2 separate regions of the Homo sapiens genome follow, and region 2 is linked to region 1. Evidence: promoter capture Hi-C in 16 types of primary human blood cells and fetal thymus (Javierre and others, 2016). All regions are on one chromosome and are shown on one strand. Each heading gives the region's core, a stretch centred on a gene start or on the middle of the fragment in contact. The rest is flanking DNA. Distances are from core to core; before and after follow the strand shown. Region 1 overlaps INTS4 (integrator complex subunit 4). Region 2 holds the start of KCTD14 (potassium channel tetramerization domain containing 14).

What was found. The method cuts DNA at HindIII sites, captures the fragments that hold promoters and counts their contacts. A CHiCAGO score of 5 or more calls a contact.
Region 2: the fragment with the promoter of KCTD14 here is called in contact with a fragment that was not itself captured in region 1 in 7 of 17 cell types (total B cells, fetal thymus, naive CD8 T cells and 4 more); the score reaches 9.0 in total B cells.

What each region holds. Positions count from the first base shown.
Region 1 is chr11:77,884,483-77,887,182 of GRCh38, forward strand. The region is part of intron 21 of INTS4 (integrator complex subunit 4); the gene reads right to left. It also overlaps a transcript of AAMDC not described here. Among named protein-coding and RNA genes, the nearest start is that of AAMDC, 65 kb to the left of the region's middle. The HindIII fragment of the contact is 2,648 bases long and covers 82-2,700 here.
Region 2 is chr11:78,021,956-78,024,655 of GRCh38, forward strand. KCTD14 (potassium channel tetramerization domain containing 14) reads right to left here and starts at 1,321. Exons shown (of 2, transcript NM_023930.4): 1 at 1,205-1,321. The coding sequence starts at 1,294. The region is part of intron 2 of NDUFC2-KCTD14 (NDUFC2-KCTD14 readthrough); the gene reads right to left. It overlaps LOC124902723 (a long non-coding RNA gene), which reads left to right and starts at 588. Exons shown (of 2, transcript XR_007062795.1): 1 at 588-1,066; 2 at 1,579-1,767. RefSeq lists enhancers at 110-677, 678-1,247, 1,248-1,815. The HindIII fragment of the contact is 5,224 bases long and covers 1-2,700 here.

The sequences.
Region 1 (2,700 bases), core at 156-2,655:
AGCATCCTGGGGGACCTCCCAGCTCCCTGTGTAGACAGCCTACTATACTGCAGCGCACAAAGGAACTAGAGGAACAAATGAAGCTTATCCTAGGACTAGGACCTGCTCTATGTAAATATACTTATGAAGGCAGAGTAGGGAACCACACAGGTCTTCCAATGTTGAAACTGTGGTCAATGTTGAAACTGCGGAAGGCATGTCTCACCCACTTGCCCTATAATCCTTCATCTCTCCTCAGGTCATGGGGCCTCCCCCTGATTCTACACTTCTTTCTTTCTTTTTTTTTCTTTAAAACAGGGTCTTACTCTGCCACCCAGGCTGGAGTGCAGTGGCACGATCATAACTCACTGAAGCCTCAAACTCCTGGGCGCAAGTGATCTTCCTGCCTCAGCCTCCTGAGGAGTGGGGATTACAGGCACGTGCCACCACGCCAGGTAATTTTCTTTTTAAATTTTTTTGTAGAGACAAGATCTTGCTATGTTGCCCAGGCTAGTCTCCAACTCTTGACCTCAAGTGATCCTCCTGCCTCAGACTCCCATAGTGTTGGAATTACTGGCATGAGCAATTGTGCCCAGCCTACCCTTATTTCTTTTTCTTTTTCTTTTTTCTTTTCTTGAGATAGTCTCACTCTGTCACACAAGCTGAACTGCAGTGGCATGATCTCGGCTCACTGCAACCTCCGCCTCCCGGGTTAAAGTGATTCTCCTGCCTCAGCCTCCCAAGTAGCTGGGATTACAGGCGCCCACCGTCATGCCCGGCTAATTTTGTATCTTTAGTAGAGATGGGGTTTCACCATGTTGGCCAGGTTGGTCTCGAACTCCTGACCTCAGGTGATCTTCCTACTTCAGCCTCCCAAAGTGTTGGGATTACAGGCGTGAGCCACCACACCTGGCCTACCCTTATTTCTTAAAGCTGCTACTCCCCACTCTAGTTCTAGGCTCCAAGCTCCCAAACCTACTATAGGAAAAAAATGCAGGTGTCTCAGTTTCCTGATCCTTATTATCTTTAAAGACAAGTGCTTGGGCTTCATTTTTTTTTAGAAAATGAAGGGGAGGGCCGGGCACAGTGGCTCACACCTGTAATCCCAGCACTTTGGGAGGCTGAGCCAGGTGGATTACTTGAGGTCAGGAGTTCAAGACCAGTCTGGTCAACATGATGAAACCCCTTCTCTACTAAAAATACAAAAATTAGCTGGGTATGGTGGCGTGTGCCTGTAGTCCCAGCTACTTGGGAGGCTGAAGCAGGAGAATCACTTGAACCTGGGAGGCAGAGGTTGCAGTGAGCTGAGATCGCTGCCACTGCACTCCAGCCTGGGTGACAGAGTGAGATTCTGTCTCAAAAAAAAGAAAGAAAGAAAGAAAAAGAAGGGCAGAGGGGGGCTGAAACAGCAATGATCATGGGAAAAACAAATGAACAGGGGCCATAATTTCTGTGTTCAGCAGGTGCAGTGGCTCATGCCTATAATCCCAGCATTTTGCGGGGCTGAGGCGGGAGGATTGCTTGAAGACAGGAGTTTAAGACGAGACTGGGCAAAAAAGTAAGACCCCCCAATCTCCACACAAAAAAAATTAAAATTAGCCAGGTGTAGTGGTGTGTATCTCTAGTTCCAGCTACTCAGGAGGCTGAGGCAGGAGGATCCCTTGGACACAGAAGTTTGAGGTCACAGTGAGCTGACCATGCCACTGCACTCCAGCCCAGGCAACAGACAGAGACCTTGTCTCAAAAAAAAGAAAAAAAAAATTCCCAGCATTCTCAGCAAAACTGTCCTTGGTGAAAGGCCTTCACTCCTCTGTGAAATGGTTGCTGGAAGCCTTCTTTCATTTGTCTACTCCAAAAGTGGAGCTTAGAAACCTGTGGCCCAAGTAGGTCAGAGGAAGGAAATGGCCAGTATGAATGATCATCAGGTAGAATACAGTAACCTAGATTAGGCTTACAAGAGTTAATAATCGCGAAGGCCCGCGGCGGGTGTTGATGCCATGTGATTTCTGCCCAGTGCTCTGAATGTCAAAGTGAAGAAATTCAATGAAGCACGGGTAAACGGCGGGAGTAACTATGACTCTCTTAAGGTAGCCAAATGCCTTGTCATCTAATTAGTGACGCACATGAATGGATGAACGAGATTCCCACTGTCCCTACCTACTATCCAGCGAAACCACAGCCAAGGGAATGGGCTTGGCGGAATCAGCAGGGAAAGAAGACCCTGTTGAGCTTGACTCTAGTCTGGCAGGGTGAAGAGACACGAGAGGTGTAGAATAGGTGGGAGGCGCCCGGCGAGGGGGCGGGGCAGGGTCCGCAGGCCTTGCTAAGAAACTCACTCAAAACCGCTCAACTACATGGAAACTGAACAACCTGCTCCTGAATGACTACTGGGTACATAACGAAATGAAGGCAGACATAAAGATATTCTTTGAAACCAACGAGAACAAAGACACAACATACCAGAATCTCTGGGACACATTCAAAGCAGTGTGTAGAGGGAAATTTATAGCACTAAATGCCCACAAGAGAAAGCAGGAAAGATCCAAAATTGACACCCTAACATCACAATTAAAAGAACTAGAAAAGCAAGAGCAAACACATTCAAAAGCTAGCAGAAGGCAAGAAATAACTAAAATCAGAGCAGAACTGAAGGAAATAGAGACACAAAAAACCCTTCAAAAAATTAATGAATCCACCACCAAAAATCCTCAATAAAATACT
Region 2 (2,700 bases), core at 71-2,570, 140 kb after region 1:
ATCCGCACTCCTTTCTCTGACCCCACTCATCCTTCAGATGAATTCCTCTGGGAGTCCTTCGGGGTGGGTTGTCTCACTGTGATCCCAGAAAGTCCTACACTACTATACTTCCACTGGCCTGGCAGTTCTTCCCTTGCAATTCCCTGTTTCTTCATTGACTGTGAGGTTCCTGGCCAAGTGCTGTGTTTCATGCCTGTAATCCCAGCACTTTGGGAGGCTGAGGTAGGAGGATTGCCTGAGCCTAAGAGTTTGAGACCAGCCTGGGTCTCACCAACATGGCGAGACCCCATCTCTATTTTAACAAACAAACAAACAAACAAAAACTCTGTGAGGCTCCTAAGGGAGGGGAATATCCTCTGATTTACAGGAGCATCTAGTATTCTGTTCAAGGCCAATCTTGCCCTACCTGGCATCATGCACAGTGCCTTACACTTCCCCAGTAATTCATTCAGGCATTTATGGAACACCTAGGGTGGTCCTGGCACTAGGCATGTGGCTTTGTCAATAGCCAACAACAATGACGTGATCATGGCCCTATTAGAGAGAGCCACGCTGCCCTGCTGCTGGATCTGCTTTCTCTTCCTCCAGGTCTTCAGGATGACTCTCAGTGCAGGAGAGAACCCGAATGTTCTGCTCCCAGAGTGCACGCAGCCTTTTCCCCATCCTCCTCCCCAACTCCCCTCACCCAAGCTGGGGACCAGGCAGGCAAGCAGAGGGATTTGGGACCCAGCCAGAGGGCAGGGGCAGGCTGAAGACCCAGCCAAGGGGCAGGGGCAGGCTGGAGAGGGCTGCAGGTGAGGGAAAGATCCTCTGGCCGAGCTGGTTGGATGGGCTTCTCCCACCGGGAGCAAGGGAGAAGGTGGGGCAGAGGAGGAGTCGTGGGCTAGGACAAGCCGGTGGGGAAGAGACAAGGGAAAGGAACTAAAGACCCAATGTAGAGGGAGGAAGCAAAAGGGCAAAGAGGAAAGGCTGGACAGAGCCAAACCAGAAAGGGACACCGAGGCGCGAAAGGAGAGTGATCCCAGCAGGAGGGACGGCAAAGATTGAAGAGAGCGACCAGCCCGAGGTGAAGGGGGACAGCGCGCCAGAAGCAGGGGGCTCGGGCGTCTGGGAGGGACGGGCAGGAGAAACTGGAAGGGAGGGAAGAGGCGGAGGGAAGAGGCGGAGGACAGAGGCGCGGGGACGCAGCTAGCCTCGCACTTACCGTTGGCCGCCTGGGCCGGGGGGACTGGGGCAGAGGGGTCTGGCTCGTCATCCTGCCCACTGGCCGCTCCACTGCGCAGCCCTGCCACATGCAGATCACTTGGGCCAGCGGAAGTGCCCCTGGCTGCCCGCCCCTAGGTGGGAACACCGAGGCTCAAGGCGGGACGGGGCTGAGCCAGGCGTGGCTTGCAGTGAGACTGGGCCAAGTGCAGAAAGAAATGGACAGTCTGTCTATTTGGGGCTTCTAAAAGTTGTTAGGCCCTGAGAAGGGCTGACTTTGGAGACCGAGAAATGGAGCAGACCCCTTAAGGACTGACCTTTTGATATAGATTAATTTCCTTCCTTTTCTTTCTTTCTTTCTTTTTTTTTTTTCAGAGACAGGGTCTCACTCTATCGCTCAGGCTGAAGTGCAGTGGCGGATCAGGCTCACTGCAACCTCAACCTCCTGGGCTCAAGTGATCCTCCCACCTCAGCCTCCCAAAGTGGTGGGATTACAGGCCTGAGCCACGGCAACTTGCCTCTTCCTATATTTTCTTTTACGCTTAAATAAATTACTTAAACATATTGCTTGAATCCCGTTATTAAAGTTGACATTAGTTAATGCCCCTCTCTGGGCCTCGGAGTTCCCAGTAGTGAAATGGGGGAGGCAGAAGGAATTGACATTGACTGACATTGACAACCAGAGACTTTCTATTCCCTACAGTCCTAGGGAGTGAAAGATCCGCAACACCCATTTTACAGATCAGAAAACTGGCGCTCTAGGAGGTAGGGTGGTGTTAAAATGTAAAGTCTGAGGATCAACAAAACTTTTTTAAGAGTATACTTGAGTAACAGGCAATTCTTGAATCGGGGAACACCAGATGGAAAGAGGTTGAGTGTTCCCATGACAATGCATCAGAGGCAAATATTTATGGGGAGAATATGGAAGCAAGATATTTTGTTGGGGACAGGCATGGTGGCTCACGCCTGTAATCCTAGCACTTTGGGAGGCCAAAGCGGACAGATCATTTGAGGTCAGAAGTTCGAGACCAGCCTGACCAAAATGGTGAAACCCCGTCTCTACTGAAAATACAAAAATTAGCTGGGTGTGATGGCATGTGCCTGTAATCCCAGATACTGTGGACGCTGAGGCAGGAGAATCGCTGGAACCCGGGAGGCAGAGATTGTAGTGAGCTAAGATTGCACCACTGAACTCCAGCCTGGGCAACAAAGATTCCCTCTCAAAAAAAAAAAAAAAAAATATATATATATATACACACACACACACACACACACACACACACACACATATATATATATATACATATATATATATAAAATTGGTTACAGTTAAAAAATCTCCTTTTTTGGTTTCCTTTGTTGAAAAGTCCACAGCTACTTAATTGTATGTTAGTTGGCTGCTTGTGGTTGGCTAATGTTAAGTTTCGTTTCTGTCTAACATTAGCATTTACCAGAAATGACTCTATTAGTCAGGGTTCTACAGAGGGACAGAACTAA